Linked DNA regions of Homo sapiens: regions 2, 3 and 4 are each linked to region 1. Evidence: promoter capture Hi-C in 16 types of primary human blood cells and fetal thymus (Javierre and others, 2016). All regions are on one chromosome and are shown on one strand. The core of a region is centred on a gene start or on the middle of the fragment in contact, and the rest is flanking DNA. Distances in the headings are between cores, read along the strand shown. Region 1 holds the start of CRP (C-reactive protein). Region 2 has its middle 4.6 kb from the start of ACKR1. Region 3 has its middle 41 kb from the start of FCER1A. Region 4 has its middle 44 kb from the start of ACKR1.

What was found. Contacts are between HindIII fragments. The CHiCAGO score rates a contact against its expected background, and 5 or more counts as called.
Region 2: a contact is called between a fragment that was not itself captured here and the fragment with the promoter of CRP in region 1, in 1 of 17 cell types (M2 macrophages). The highest score is 5.4, in M2 macrophages.
Region 3: a contact is called between a fragment that was not itself captured here and the fragment with the promoter of CRP in region 1, in 1 of 17 cell types (M1 macrophages). The highest score is 6.3, in M1 macrophages.
Region 4: a fragment that was not itself captured here is called in contact with the fragment with the promoter of CRP in region 1 in 5 of 17 cell types (M0 macrophages, total CD8 T cells, endothelial precursors and 2 more); the score reaches 8.6 in M0 macrophages.

What each region holds. Positions count from the first base shown.
Region 1 is chr1:159,712,416-159,716,219 of GRCh38, forward strand. It overlaps CRP (C-reactive protein), which reads right to left and starts at 2,174. Exons shown (of 2, transcript NM_000567.3): 1 at 2,010-2,174; 2 at 1-1,723. The coding sequence starts at 2,070. The coding sequence ends at 1,110. The HindIII fragment of the contact is 4,063 bases long and covers 1-3,074 here.
Region 2 is chr1:159,207,689-159,211,196 of GRCh38, forward strand. No RefSeq gene overlaps it. Among named protein-coding and RNA genes, the nearest start is that of ACKR1, 4.6 kb to the left of the region's middle. The HindIII fragment of the contact is 1,947 bases long and covers 1,026-2,972 here.
Region 3 is chr1:159,341,180-159,344,797 of GRCh38, forward strand. No RefSeq gene overlaps it. Among named protein-coding and RNA genes, the nearest start is that of FCER1A, 41 kb to the left of the region's middle. The HindIII fragment of the contact is 1,839 bases long and covers 1,222-3,060 here.
Region 4 is chr1:159,246,684-159,250,481 of GRCh38, forward strand. No RefSeq gene overlaps it. Among named protein-coding and RNA genes, the nearest start is that of ACKR1, 44 kb to the left of the region's middle. The HindIII fragment of the contact is 161 bases long and covers 1,487-1,647 here.

The sequences.
Region 1 (3,804 bases), core at 924-3,423:
CCACTTCCAGTTTGGCTTCTGTCCTCACAGTCTCTCTCCATGTGGCAAACAAGATGGCTACTGGTGGTCCCAGGTTCACGTCCTCTCAGCTTGGAAATCCAGCAGCAAGAAGATGTCTCACTCCCAAAGTCCATAACTCAATCCTTGGGAAGACTGTAGTTGGTCCTGCTAGGAACACGTAACTATCCAACTATCCTCCAGATAGGGAGCTGGGGAGATGGGAGATGGGCTCCTCTGACAGGACACCCTGTGGTTCACGTCCACTCTTGTGGCCTGGGTATATTGGGAATGCGGGGATGAAGAAAGAATTCACAGCCCCACAAGGTTCGTGTGGAAAAGGGGAGGAGTTTCCCAGAAGAGCCATAAAATTAAGAAAGCACTGCAAGCAAACAAAAACCAGTCATTTAAGTTCTTGGCAGTAACAACATATTTATACCTAGTGCTTCATTTTGCTCTGGAAAAAAAGCAGATCTGCTCTGCTGGGGCAATTCTAATGGCCTTTCCAGTGTGCTTTGAGAAAGTGGAGGGACTGCGTGGTATTGCTGGGCTTCCCATTTCAGGAGACCTGGGCCCAGCAGTTCTATGACATGATGATGAGCACTCTGGACCCAAACCAGACACCTGGCCAGTGTCCTGATTCTGAGACTGAAGAGCCCTGTGAATGTGGGCAATGCCCTCCTGCTTTCTGGGGGTCATGGGTGGGGAATTAAATAGAAGATCAGCGCTTCCTTCTCAGCTCTTGCCTTATGAGTTTTTTATAACATCATTTCTCCTTTCTGGGTGTTAGTTTTCTCATCTATGTGAGGTAAGAAATTATCTCCAAGATCTGTCCAACTTGAAATAAAAATGAAAACAAAACACCTCAAATTCTGATTCTTTTGGACCGTTTCCCAGCATAGTTAACGAGCTCCCAGACCAGACACTTTACCTCCATTCTCAGGCGCTGAGGAGGGTGGAGCAGGCCTGCAATGCATATAGGGGAACAAAGGCCCAGAGACAGAGACGTGGGAACCATGCAGTGTAAAAAAGCGGGAGGTACCAGAGACAGAGACGTGGGGCCCATGCGGTGTAAAAAACCGGGAGGTACCTTCAGGACCCACAGCTGGGCCTCAGGGCCACAGCTGGGGTTTGGTGAACACTTCGCCTTGCACTTCATACTTCAGTGCCCGCCAGTTCAGGACATTAGGACTGAAGGGCCCGCCAAGATAGATGGTGTTAATCTCATCTGGTGACAGCACAAAGTCCCACATGTTCACATTTCCAATGTCTCCCACCAGGGACTGGCTTCCTTCAAAGTTCCCACCGAAGGAATCCTGCTCCTGCCCCAAGATGATGCTTGCTTCTGCCCCCACAGTGTATCCCTTCTTCAGACTCTTCCTCACCCTGGGCTTCCCATCTACCCAGAACTCCACGATCCCTGAGGCGGACTCCCAGCTTGTACAAATGTGTACTGGAGCTACTGTGACTTCAGGAACCTCGAATAATATTTCAGACCCACCCACTGTAAAACTGTATCCTATATCCTTAGACCAAAATATGAGAATCTCATTGTCTTGTCTCTTGGTGGCATACGAGAAAATACTGTACCCACGGGTCGAGGACAGTTCCGTGTAGAAGTGGAGGCACACAGTGAAGGCTTTGAGAGGCTTCGTTAACGGTGCTTTGAGGGATACATAGGAAGTATCCGACTCTTTGGGAAACACAAAAGCCTTCCTCGACATGTCTGTGAGCCAGAAAAACAAGCAAATGTGAGAGGTTTCTCAGATCACACAGATCTATCCCCTCACTTACGTATAGAATTTAAGATTGAGAAACAGACTGACCCCTTCTCCAGTTACACACCACACACACACACACACACACACACACACACACACACACCATGAAGGATGCTCCACTGTTCTGTTCATACAGTCTTTTTTTTTTTTTTTTGAGACTGTTCATGCAGTCTTAGACCCCACCCCCATACCTCAGATCAAATCTCTCCCATAGCCTGGGGTGGCCCTTACCTGTCTGGCCAAAAGCATGAGAGAGGCTGGTCAAGACCAAGAAACACAACAGCTTCTCCATGGTCACGTCCTGCTGCCAGTGATACAAGGGCCTGAATTCACTCCTTTGGAAAAGATGTATTCGGCTGAAAGTTCAGGGGCTAGAAGTCCTAGATCTCTTGCCTTAGAGCTACCTCCTCCTGCCTGGATTTATATCCAAAGCAGTAAGGGAGTTTGCGCCACTATGTAAATAATTTTCCAACATTGCTTGTTGGGGCAGGTGTCAGAGCTTCGGGAAGAGGGGAAGCAAAATTATTTCAGAACAGAGAAATCAATGTGAGTTATTTATTACAAACTCCTATGACTACTGAATTACCAATTCTTTATGACAGGAAAAATGAAGAAATCTCTCAGGGCTCCACTTTGGCTATCTATCCTGCGAAAATAATGGGAAATGGTAACATATTAAACGAGTGGCCATCTGGGTGCACGTGGTAGCTGCCTCTCCAACACCTACTTCAGCCCAAATCATAGAGTTTGACAAAGGAAATCTGACAGCTTCTGGAGATGGACATTATCACTAACCCCTTTCAATTTGCTTATTTACAGACTGGGAAATGAGGAAAACAAACATGCTCCTCCCAGAGCCATGGACACATTTTTTTATTATTATTATACTTTAAGTTTTAGGGTACATGTGCACAATGTGCAGGTTAGTTACATATGTATACATGTGCCATGCTGGTGTGCTGCACCCATTAACTCATCATTTAGCATTAGGTATATCTTCTAATGCTATCCCTCCCCCCTCCCCCCACCCCACAACAGTCCCCAGAGTGTGATGTTCCCCTTCCTGTGTCCAAGTATTCTCATTGTTCAATTCCCATCTATGAGTGAGAACACGCGGTGTTTGGTTTTTTGCATGGACACATTTTCTCAGCCAATTGAGTACACTTATTAAGAACTCTCTAGACATCTTGGCACTAAATGACGGCCCTGACAGTAAAAGTCCAGTAAAATGTGTGCCTGATCACAGACATAGCATTATATCAAAGTTTCTTCCAACATTTTTCTCTGAATATGTAAAGCTTCAGGCAGGAGTCAGGATAATCTGATTCTACTCTTTCCTCTATTCACAAGATTCAAGTAATCCCTCCACACTGTCTGTCAATCTTACTACAGTTCCCTACTTAACTCACTCTTCAAAATGACTATTATACTCCTTCTCCTTGCTCCTCAAGTCCCCAAAATCTCATTTATTCTTTCATTCAGCTGATGAACTCACCTTTCATTGAGAAGTTAGAAGCAATCAGAAAAGAACCACCGTATCCTTTGTAGTAGAGTCTTCTAGCCATTCCCTAACATCCATTCTCTACTTCTCATAAGAGAAGAATAACATTTTCAGTTGGGCGCTTGGTCATCCCCTCAAACACCAAATTTCCCAGCCCCCACTGTAGCTTGCAGTGATGATGTGATTAAATTAAGGCCAACGAGATATGAACAGAATAGGGACCATCTCTAGGTTGTGCTCTTTAAGAAAGGTATGTGCTTTCCCCTCCCACTTCCCCCTTTTTCCCTTTGACTAGTATTCAGTCATGATAGCAGGAGATGGAATAGTTCACTTTCAGGCCAGCAAGTGTAAGCTGCATGTTGAGGTTGGCATGGCAACAAGATAGATGGAGCCTGGATAATTGGGTATGGAGCCACTGCATCAGCTCTAGGCTGCCTACCTGAAAATTTACTTAAAGGAGAAATACTCTCCTCTTTTGTTAAATCACTGTTAACTCAGTCTTTCTGTTCTTAACACCTAACTGAT
Region 2 (3,508 bases), core at 749-3,248, 500 kb before region 1:
AGGCTACAAAACAGTTAGTTCCTACCTCTAACCCAACTAAAGGCTGGGGAAACTTGAGCAGATACGTTCTATCAGTTTGAACCCAATTACCATCTTACCATTTTCCAAAGATATGCTATACCTGGTTTCTTTACTAAAATGTTTCTGCTTGACTCTCTGGGCTTGGGAATAGTAGGCGAGTGCGGGAGAGGTGCAGAGATGAGTTAGAATAGCTTAGGCAGGAGGGTGCAAAAGGCTTAGGGAATTTTCCTGGGTGGGTGCCACGACAAGGCCTCTAAATCTCCCACCTCCTGTCTCTTAGCAACCACCAGGTTAGCTCCTGATTGGTTCGTCCTCAATTGAAAGGCGGGATTTAGGGACCGATTGAGACGCGGGAGACATTCTGAAACAGAAAGGAAGGGAGAGAAAATGAAGAGAAAGGAAATAATTTACAAACCTAAATTATGCTCTGGTTTCCAACCACAGTTCATGAATGTGTTCTAGTATTTTTTCCCCCGCTTTTTTTTTTCCAGGCTTCTCTCAATATCCCCCTCCCGTCCTTGACCACTCTTGCAATTCTACCAGATGTTGCTGTCCTCCCTTACAAGGTACTGATTTGGAAGCTGACCTAGTTGAGGGGGAGGAGAGGGCGTTTTTGACTCCCTGAATCTTCCAGTGTCAACCTGATGCAAGGGAGGCTTAATTTAAGACCAGTAGGCTTGTCTTATCTGCCCCCAACCCTGTGCCTCTGGATAGAAATCCCTGGTCAGTCAGTCCAGTTAGAGAGAACCCCAGACTCCTGGGTAATAGCTTGGCAGCTCTCATGGCTTTCACAAGGGAAAGGCAGCTGCAGAAGCCCGAAGCTGCTAAGAGGTTAGGGTGGGCTGGAGACAGTGCCCTACCCCCGCCCCCTGCTACATCCTCCTCATCCCCACCCCCACCGGGATTGCTCCAGGCCTTTTGGGCTGCCCTTTCCCTGCCATTACCTAGGCAGCACTTGGAGAGCTCCTCCTTAAGTCTAACCCGGACCTCAGTCATTTCTTTAAAGCTTTCTTGGGGACCTGCCACCCCATGCATTTAACCCACTGCATGCCATCAACCACTCTAAAATTGGTCTGAGTCTGGCATCTTTTCTGCAACCCTTCAGGAATACAAATCCTGTCTCCTTAAAGCCCTTAAGAATTTAATCTTAGGGTTGGCAGGGACTTTAGCTGTGTATGAGATATTGGGCATCCTAGCTAAAGAAAAAAATCCTCTCAGAAAGATGAGAGCCAGGGAAGCAAGCTCTTGGGAAAACACAGGACCCTGAGGAAGGTCAGTTTGCTTTGCTTTCTAAAGGAGAGAGATCTATTATTCAAGGGAAGTTTGAACATCACATTGACGCTCATAGTTCATTTATTCCAAGCTGAGGCCCCTCCCTTAGGATTTAGAAAACAAATACTTGGTCCTCACACCCTTTTTCCATTCCTATTTCCCTATCCCCCAACCCCATCACCACCTTCCTCCCTCAGAGGAATTCTGATTGAGAACTTCACTGGGATTTCAAACCCAATTCATCGCCAACTCTAATTGCCAGAGATTTGCATGAAAACCATCGTATGCTATCTAATTATTCTGACAACAGCAGCCCGCCGTCTGGGCACAAGGAGAATCGGAGTTTTAATTAACAATAATGCACCTTGCTGACGAATGCGACTGTTTAGGTTAATTAACAAGTCCAAGTCCTTCCAAATCATCTCTAGACATCTAGGTGATTTGGGCAGGAAGGGTGTGGGGAACACAGGGAGGGATGGGGAGTGTTTAAGCATCATTTCTGCAAAAATGCACGTTAGCTTTCTTCTTTCCTGTAACTATTTGGTGAAGGGAAGAGAAACTCTCTAAGAGACTGGCTCTGGAAAATTGGTTGGGGGATTTTGAGAACATCTTCTTTTTTTTTTTTTTTTTTTGAGACAGAGTCTCACTCTGTTGCCCAGGCTGGAGTGTAGTGGTGCAATCTTGGCTCACTGCAACCTCCGCCTCCCAGGTTCAAGTGATTCTCCTGCCTCAGCCTCCTGAGTAGCTGGGATTACAGGTGTGCACCACCACGCCAGGCTAATTTTTTGTATTTTTAGTAGAGACGGGGGGGTCTCACCAGTTTGGCCAGCCTGGTCTCGAACTCTGACTTCAGGTGATCCACCTGCCTCAGCCTCCCAAAGTGCTGGGATCACAGGCGTGAGCCACCGCGCCCGGCGGGAACATCATTTTAAGGGGATGTATCAGACATCTTTATGTTGCACTTAGATTTAGGAAATCTTTTGGATACATTTTTATAAATGAGAAGATTAAGTTCTTATAGCTCTCTAGTATCTCAAAATCATTGCCTGATTGTTTGCAAACTTGGTTTCTAGCATGAAAGTCTCAACTTCCCCATCAATGCCATTTGTCCTCAGCTTTCTCTATATGTTCCTACCACATCTGTGGTCATTTAAAGTTGCCTACTGCTTGTGAACCCGGGAGGTGGAGCTTGCAGTAAGCCGAGATCGCGCCACTGCACTCCAGCCTGAGCGACAGAGTGAGACTCCATCTCAAAAAAAAAAAAAAAAAAAGTTGCCTACTGCCTTTGGTTTCCCAGATAACGTGTCAAGTTTCACCCTTGCCCTCTTCAAAGATAACTGTATTTTTTTTTCCTGGGTAGTTCTCCGTATCATGCAAAAATACATTGTATGTAGCTCCAAACTGTACCTTTCATCTTTCTAGTCTTTCTAAGAGCATGGACCTAGTCTTTTTCCTCTAAATAGGGTATTGCTAATGTTTACGGGATAGGAGGAGGGTTATAGGCCTCTTAGAAAATCCAGTGATAGTAATAAACTTACTCTTTACAAAAATCCAATATTATACCCTAAATTTGGCATCTAGTTCTTCGCTACTGCATTTAAGTTAATCCTGAGTGTTTCTGTACCCTCTGACAGCACTTCCACGATTAGCTGGTGGCCTTGTCTCCCCACAGCTCAAGAAGCTTTATGCTCACGGGTGAATTTTGTTCTTTGAAGGAGCAAATCTGTTTTCCACTCTAAGAGTCTTTGCACTTGATATCTCTTCTGCCCCAAAAGCTCCTTCCTGTGCTCTTTATATGACCAACAACTTCTCGTCCTTGGGGTCTCTGTGCAAATATCACCTCCCTCAAGAGTGACCTTCCCTGACATCCAGTGGAATGTAGCCTGGCCATGCCACACCCAATTATTCTCTACCAGTTCACCTCGGATGTTTCCACTGTAGCATTTATCACATGTTAAAATTTTATTTATTCGTTTATTTGCTTATCAGTTTACTGCTCGTCTACCTCCTCCCTCCAACACTAGAAAAGAAACTTCAACCATGCAAGAGTCCTTTCGCTGACTGGCACATGATCAGAGCTCAGGAAACATCTACTAAATACCCAAGTTAATTTCATGAATAAAGATTCATTGGCCACACTGGAACATTCACAGTCCAGAGAGGGAAGAGGAACAAGTAAGCAAATAATTGATGCAGAAAACTGACCTCTTCTCCC
Region 3 (3,618 bases), core at 891-3,390, 370 kb before region 1:
TATTTTTGTTCATAATAATGTATTTACTTGTGAGATGATTTATTTGAAATATGCCTAGGTGGGAAGGCTATTCACTGGACAAGGACAAGAACACCTAATCAGGGAGAGAATGAGGGGTAAAATCTAGCTCACAGTGCACTTGACAAGCCATACATCCTGTTATAGATCTCCCTCTGTCTATAAGCAGGAGTGCCCTTTTACTAATTGTATAAATACAGTCTCTGCTCACAAAGGAGTGTGTACATTGGCTGCATCTACATGAAGAGTCTCCTTTTGCTAATTTGCACAAAGATAATAATGGATTAGCTATAGTTTTGTATGCCTCCCTCCTTGATAAGCTCTATGTGAGCAAACACCATGACTGTTTTTGTCATGCTTGTGTCCTCAATACTCAGCATAATTCATCGCACTTAAGCTCTCCATTAATATTTATTGGTTTAATAAATAAAGAAATGATCCTCAAACGTATAATAAATAGGCCATTTTATTTTGCAGGTTTCTTCTAGGTTCATTGGTTTGTTAACAAAATAGACTTTACATTCTAAGATGCAAGCTGCTTTGGTGAGTCAATAACCAAAGGCAATGAGTTTTGTTTTACTAATTGCCCAAATTCCTAATCAGATCCCTGGGATAGAGTCATACACTTTGCTTCCCTCCGTGCCCTGGAATGATTCTCAAGGGGAAGTCCCCAGAGTTCTAGAGCAGATGAAGTTGCTTCTCTTTCAGGAGTAAACAGAGTTCCTGGATTTGGGGTTGCAAGAGATTTCAACTCTGCAGGAAGACTTCCCAAGCCAGAGGAGTCAATGCTCTGGACCTTGAATTAGTCACCATACTCGAATCTTCCTTCAGACACTCAGGAAGTGCTGATCATCCAGGCTTGAAGCTTTCAATTTCTCCTACTAGACCTTTTGGAGAGGTTCTAATCTCAGGGTTTTTTTGTTGTTGTTGTTTATTTTATTTATTTATTTTCTTTTCATGTTCAAATACACCAGCTAAAAGGAGAATTTCTCTCATTTCCTCTGCCAAGTTTGCAAAAAGTAAGTGGTTATTGATAGGAAAAAAAGGAGAGGAAACTTGATTTTAAATTTTCTGATATACTTCCTTTTTCTCTTCAGTTTTCTGATTATTTTTGTGATATTAGAATTTCATAATTTCCCTGTATCTTGCATGATGGCTGATTGAGAGCTGATGACTTATAAAGTGAAATATAGTATTCTTACAAGCTTTATGTTTAAATAATAAAATCAGCTGCAGAAAATCTTGGAGGGAAGAGTGAATAAGACAACTTTCATAACTCCCAGAATTGTCATCTGTTCCTGATGTCCCTGGCATCTTTTGAGTCAATAAGGCTGAGATGCAGTTTTCATACAGCTATTGTCTCCTTCTTCTCTTACCTGAACACCTTGCCTGAAAATTCATTCAGTAGGGCATTGATCTGTTGGAAATGCATGGGATTTGGAGTTAGAAATATCTTTGTTTCACACCTGCAACTGCCAATTACTAGATCTGTGAGTCGGACTTAAGTAGCTTATCCCACTGAAGTAGCTTATCCCACTGAGCCTCAAATTCTCCACCTACCAAATGGGAGTATTTTATTTCCTTGCAGAGTAATCACTAGCCTTTAGGCTGGTGTATGTTAACCAAATGTTTGTTTCTGCATTTTATTTTCTAACTCCTCAGCCATTTAGAGTATAAGGGCTACCTTCATTTTTCCATCAGCTTTGAGAGTCTATATGCTCCGTTGACACCCCTTATCTATCATGCACAGTCCTGGTCAGATTACTGTTCCTGCCCCTTTTCAGCAACAATGCATGGGGGCATCAGGATCACTACTTTCAGAAAAATGTACTCAGCATAATGTGTGTGTGTGTGGGGGGGGGGCGGGCGGAGGGGTGTGAGAGAGAGAGAGAAAGAGAGAGAGAGAGAAAAAGAGAGAGAGATAGGTGGATGTGAATTAGACTGAGGCTAAGGATTCTAGACAGATAGATACTAGACTTGCCATAGCAGAGAACAATTAAAAGGAACACCATTTTCCTCTGAGCCTCACCCTCCTATCAGATGATAGTAGCTACGTCAGGAACTATGAGGAAATTAGGTAACAATTACACAGTCCATGTTCCTGCCTCTTCACAGAGACATCAAAAGCAACTCAGAATAAGATACAATGATTCCCTTTTTAAAAAATGTCTTCCTAAAGAAGGTTCATTCACTTCTGTATATCAGTGTTTCATGTATCAGTATCTCAGCTGAGATAAAAATATTTTTTTCTTCCAGTAATGAAATTTTTTTAATAGCAAAGGACTCAGTGTTCAGGGTCAAGAGAGCTGAGTTTCCAAGTTAGCTCTGCCATGAACTAAATGTGTGATATTCCTTTTTCCTTTTTGGAATTCAGTTTTCTCACTTTTCTACCACATAGTTATTTCTGATAGATTTATTATGACTTTGAAGAATAAAGAAAACTGTAAAATGCAAAAAACATTCATATACGTTTTTACCATCTTTTTAGAGAAAAGAGCTATTCACAAAAACTTAATTTAAGAATTGGAAAACTAACTCAGAATAATTATTCATGTCCCTTCTTAATGATAATCGTTTGTCAGCATTTAGTTTATCTCTCCATCTTTTCCTATATTGCCCTTTCATGTCTTTTAGCTCTAGCAGCTTCTCAGCTTCTGCAACTTAAAGAGCTTTGTGGATTTTATCCTTTCCTATCTATCTGTATGCCAGTTTTTCTGTCTTTCTTTTGCTTGGGTGCTTCATATGCTCCACATGCCTGCAATTTCCCTAAAGGAAGAGTCCATATTCTCTACCTCTCACTACCCTATAGTTCTATAGTCTAGATTTTCACTTAAATACATTTCTTGGTTTCTGTGTGCCCAAAGAAGTGTTTCTGTGTATATCTGGCAGAAGTGAGGGTCTCTTTCTTCAGACTAGAAGTATCTCAAGAGCATTCCCTTATTCATTAGTTCATTTAACACATACTTATCAAAAACTTAAAATGTGGCAAAAATTAGGATAGCTTTAGCGATATGGAATTGAGAATGATCTCTATAATAAGGAAGCTTAAAATGTAGTTGAAATGTCAGATAATAATTTCAATTGAATGTGACAAGTGCTATTATAGAAGGAATGAAATGCAAAGAGAACCAAGGAGGGAGGGATATCTAGATGGAAAGATGGTTGAGAGAATGGCCTCAAGAAAGGCTTAAAAATTTGAACATACCCTCAACCCCACTGCATAAGTAATACATACTTATCATGGACACTAGGGAAAAATTAGGAGACAGTGGGATCTTACCCATAATTACACCATGCAGAACCATATTCTACTAACATTTAGATCATTTACATTCAGCCTTTCTCTATGCAGATATTCATATAATTGAGATTATTTTGTACATACTATATCATATCCTGCTTCACTTACTATTTTCCACTGAATTATAAAATTATCATATGCATTATGTTTAAAGCTGCATAATACATATTTTTAAAATAATGTTGCATTACTTTTTGTTTACAAATGTTACATATATTCATTTATGAATTCTCTGAGTGTTTTTTCTATGTTCACATATTTACTTATACATGGATATATATCTTTCTTTTGTTTACAAT
Region 4 (3,798 bases), core at 317-2,816, 470 kb before region 1:
TGAGTTCTCTAGGTAGCTGCTTGGATTTTGGGTGTGGCTGCTGGTTGGGCTAATCTGTCAGGAGAGACCACTGGCTGAGACATGCAATCAGACAGATCTGCTGGATGTACATTGCAATGATCTCAGATCAGCCTGGGCCACAAGGTGTATTCTCTGGCCAAGTGGTACTGTTGTTTGAGATCTGCAGCTGGATGGGGTTTCAGGCTTGGCTCTGAGGTTAGGCAGAGTAGCTGCTCAAATGGAGCATGCTTGAGTGTGGCAGAACTAGCCACTGCACTTTGCTGAAGTGTTCTGTTTGGTTGTCTCCATCCCTGGACAGGGTCTTGGGCAAGCTTTGAGGCTGTGCTAAATGCTGTATAAACTGGATCCCACTCTTTTCCAAATTGTGCTGGGACAAGCATCTCTCTCCCTGGGTTGAGGGCCTTGTGGTAGGGTCTGAGACTAAGCCTGGAGGCTCGCCATCTAGGGATTCAAGCTAGGTAGGACTTTCCATCACTTCTGGGAGTGACCAGCTCAGCTTTGTGGGTAGGTGATGCTGTTGGCTTGTATCTCTGATCAGGTACCACCACTGGAAGGTACACAGAGCTATCAGCAAGGTTTGTTCAGTGTTCATGCTGTTACCCGCTGTACTCCTTGTGAGGTGAGACCACAGCGGGCTTCCTGGGAAGCGTCTCAGAATTCTAGGGAAGCTGGATGTCCAACTCCAGTTCTCTTTTCCCACTGTTGAAACTGAGCCTTGGGGAATCCTCTCTGTGTGGTACTTTGCTGACTCATGGAATGGGCAGGGGTGATGGGGTGATGCAATCAGTGAGGCCATTTTACTTAACCCCTTTTGTGGTCTTTATTTAGTTCTGTTGTCCACACTGTTTTCTCAAGCTTATTCTCAAGTACTGGAGTTTTCACAAAGGCATCCTTGTCTGTGGATAATTGTTAGTTGAACTTTCTATGGGGGGTAGTGAAGCCTGTGACCTCTTATTCTGCTATCTTGCTGATGTCACCAGCTAAATCTTTATTAATTAATCAATGAATAAAATATATACAGAGTGAGACAAAGGGAAAAAATTAAGCAGAAAGTATGTAGTGAGGGGAGAAGCAAAGAGGGAAGAGTTGAGTTGCCCACATGGAAGACTTATAGAACTGCTATTAGTTTATCGCACCTACTTTGAAATGAGTACGTTTGTTGTTGTATTTTGAAGTAGTAATGAATAATGTGTCAGCCACTCGTGGGGTCCAAATGTTTGGCTGCTTTATCCTCTTCTTCCTTCTCACCTATTCTTAAAATAATAATCTATAAATTGAGGTGATCCAGACATACCTCTGTCCTGAAAACCTGATGAAGCCTCACTATCGTCCAAAAAAAAAAAAAATTGCAAAACTTGGACCACCCTAAGTATTTAATTTAATATTCCCCATTTGTCTAGTATACAGATATGATAGCACAACTAGGGATACGATGGTTGTATAAAATATTTTGCCTCCCATGAAAAGCTTATATTTAAAGAGACAGCCCATCTATCCAAAAACATTAGTCAACTATTACTAGATAGTATTTGGTTAAGTGAAAGTTGAGTGAAAAAAAAAACAACAAAAAATAGAATTTAGACCCAGACTGAAGTGAGCTCAGTGTGAGCTGAAGACTTCAAATAAAGCTTCAAAGAAGAAGTGATGTTAACAGAAACTCTGAAATTATTGTATTATTTGTATTGATTTGATATTTTTCCTTGGATTTTATTCTAAGAAAAAGCTAGCCTGTGCCAAATTGCAGAGTGCCTCACAAAGTCTGAATGTATGTACCTGCCAAATCTCATGTTGAATCATGATCCCCAGTGTTGGAGGTAGGGCCTGGAGGGAGGTGTTTGGATTGTGGGGGTGGATCCCTCATGAATGGCTTAGGCTATCCCCTTGGTGATAAGCGAGCTCTTGCTCTGAGTTCCCATGAGATCTGATCATTTAAAAGTGTGTGACATCTCCTCCCCCAGCTGACTCTCTCTCTTTTCCTCCTGCTTGTGCCATGTGGAGTGCCTGTTCCCACTTTACCTTCTGCCATAATTGTGCTTCCTGAGGCCTCCCCAGAAGCTGAGCAGATGCTAGCACCATGCTTCCTGTAAAGCCTATAGAACCAATTAAACCTCTTTTCTTTATAAATTACCCAGTCTCAGGTATTTCTTTATAGCAATGCAAGAAAAGCCTAATACAGCACCCTTTAAAAAGGTAGTAAAAAATCTGGTCTTCAAAAGTAGATTAGCTGGCTTTCAGTTCCAACATGCAAAAGCTTAGAAGTCATCAGTTCCATTCTATCAACAACAGCAACAACAAAGAAGATAAATAAACAAAATTAGCAGCTTTTCATGAATACCTCAGAAAACTGAGATTGCAGGGCAAATTGCCACCCCTAAATCTGGAAAAACAGGTGAATCCAGAGAACCACATGAAGACAGCTTACTGCTGGGGAAGCCCTGGAGCCATAAACTGGAACACTTAAACAACAATTTTGACAAATTTCAGAAGGCTAATGTGAGAATTATCCTGAGAATGAGAAACTCCTAGGTGCTGCAATCTTAGGGGCACCCACATACTTTTGTGAGTTTTATCTCCAGACACCACACAGTGTTCTTATGGTGAAGAGCGGTCAGAAAAAATTCATGGCTCAGGTAGAAGGAGGGAAAGAATAACTTGTAGAATACAACCTGACTGTTCTTCATAGCAAAGACTTACTCTCCAGGGGTAAAGATTTATCAGAGCCTTATCCCACCTAGGGGAAAATAATTTCTCTCACTCTAGCCCTCTCTAGCATTCCTATTTCACCTGAGTGAGGAGAGAGGACAAGACACCCTTGTGAAGGTCACATTCCAGGAACACAGGCCCACTAAAAGAGTGAGACTTAATAATAAGATTACAGAATGCTCCTCACTCCCACACCTTACTGTCAGATCAAAAGGACTCTGGTATAAGGGTGGGTCACAGTTAAAAGAGCTGCAAGATTTAAACTCTCTCTGAAGAGGAGTACTTAGGGAATCTCAAAGTTAACAGAGTAGAATAAACAAGGATACTAGAGGAATTTAGTCTCTGGCCTCTATCGATATAGCAAACATTAAATATAGCCCAAATCTTAGCCAGATTAACATAAAACTTCACATTAAATTCATGTTTACTTCAGTTTCTATTGCCCAATATATCATGTGCAGCTTTCAACAAATATTGCAAAATGTGCCAGAAGACAAGGAAAAATGCAGTTTGAAGAGACAAAGCAAGAATCAGAAAGAAAGTCAGATATAACATAGATTTTGGAATTATCAGATAACATAATTATCTGATAATTACCTAACATAATTAATATGTTAAGAGTTATAATGACAAAAGTAGACAACTTGCCAAACAGATGGGTAATATAAAAGCAGAGATTAAAACTCTAAGAACAATAATAGGCGATCCTAGAAATCAAAAACATTGTAACAGAGATTAAAAAAATGTCTTTGATGGTCTCATCAGTAGACTGGACATGAGTAAGAAAAGAATCAGTGAACCTAAAGATAGACCAACTTCTCATACTGAAGTACAAAGAGAAAAAAAATGAAGAAAACAAAAAACAAAACAGAACATTCAAGAACTGTGGAACGATTTCAAAAGGTATAACATATGTGTAATTGGGATATTTGAAGGAGAAGAAAGAGACAGAAATATTTGAAGTAATAATAGAGAGAATTTTTCAAAGTTAACGACAAACCTCAAACTACAGATTCAGTAAGCTCAGATAACTACAAGCTGAAGAAATACCAAAAAATATACGAGAGGTGTGCA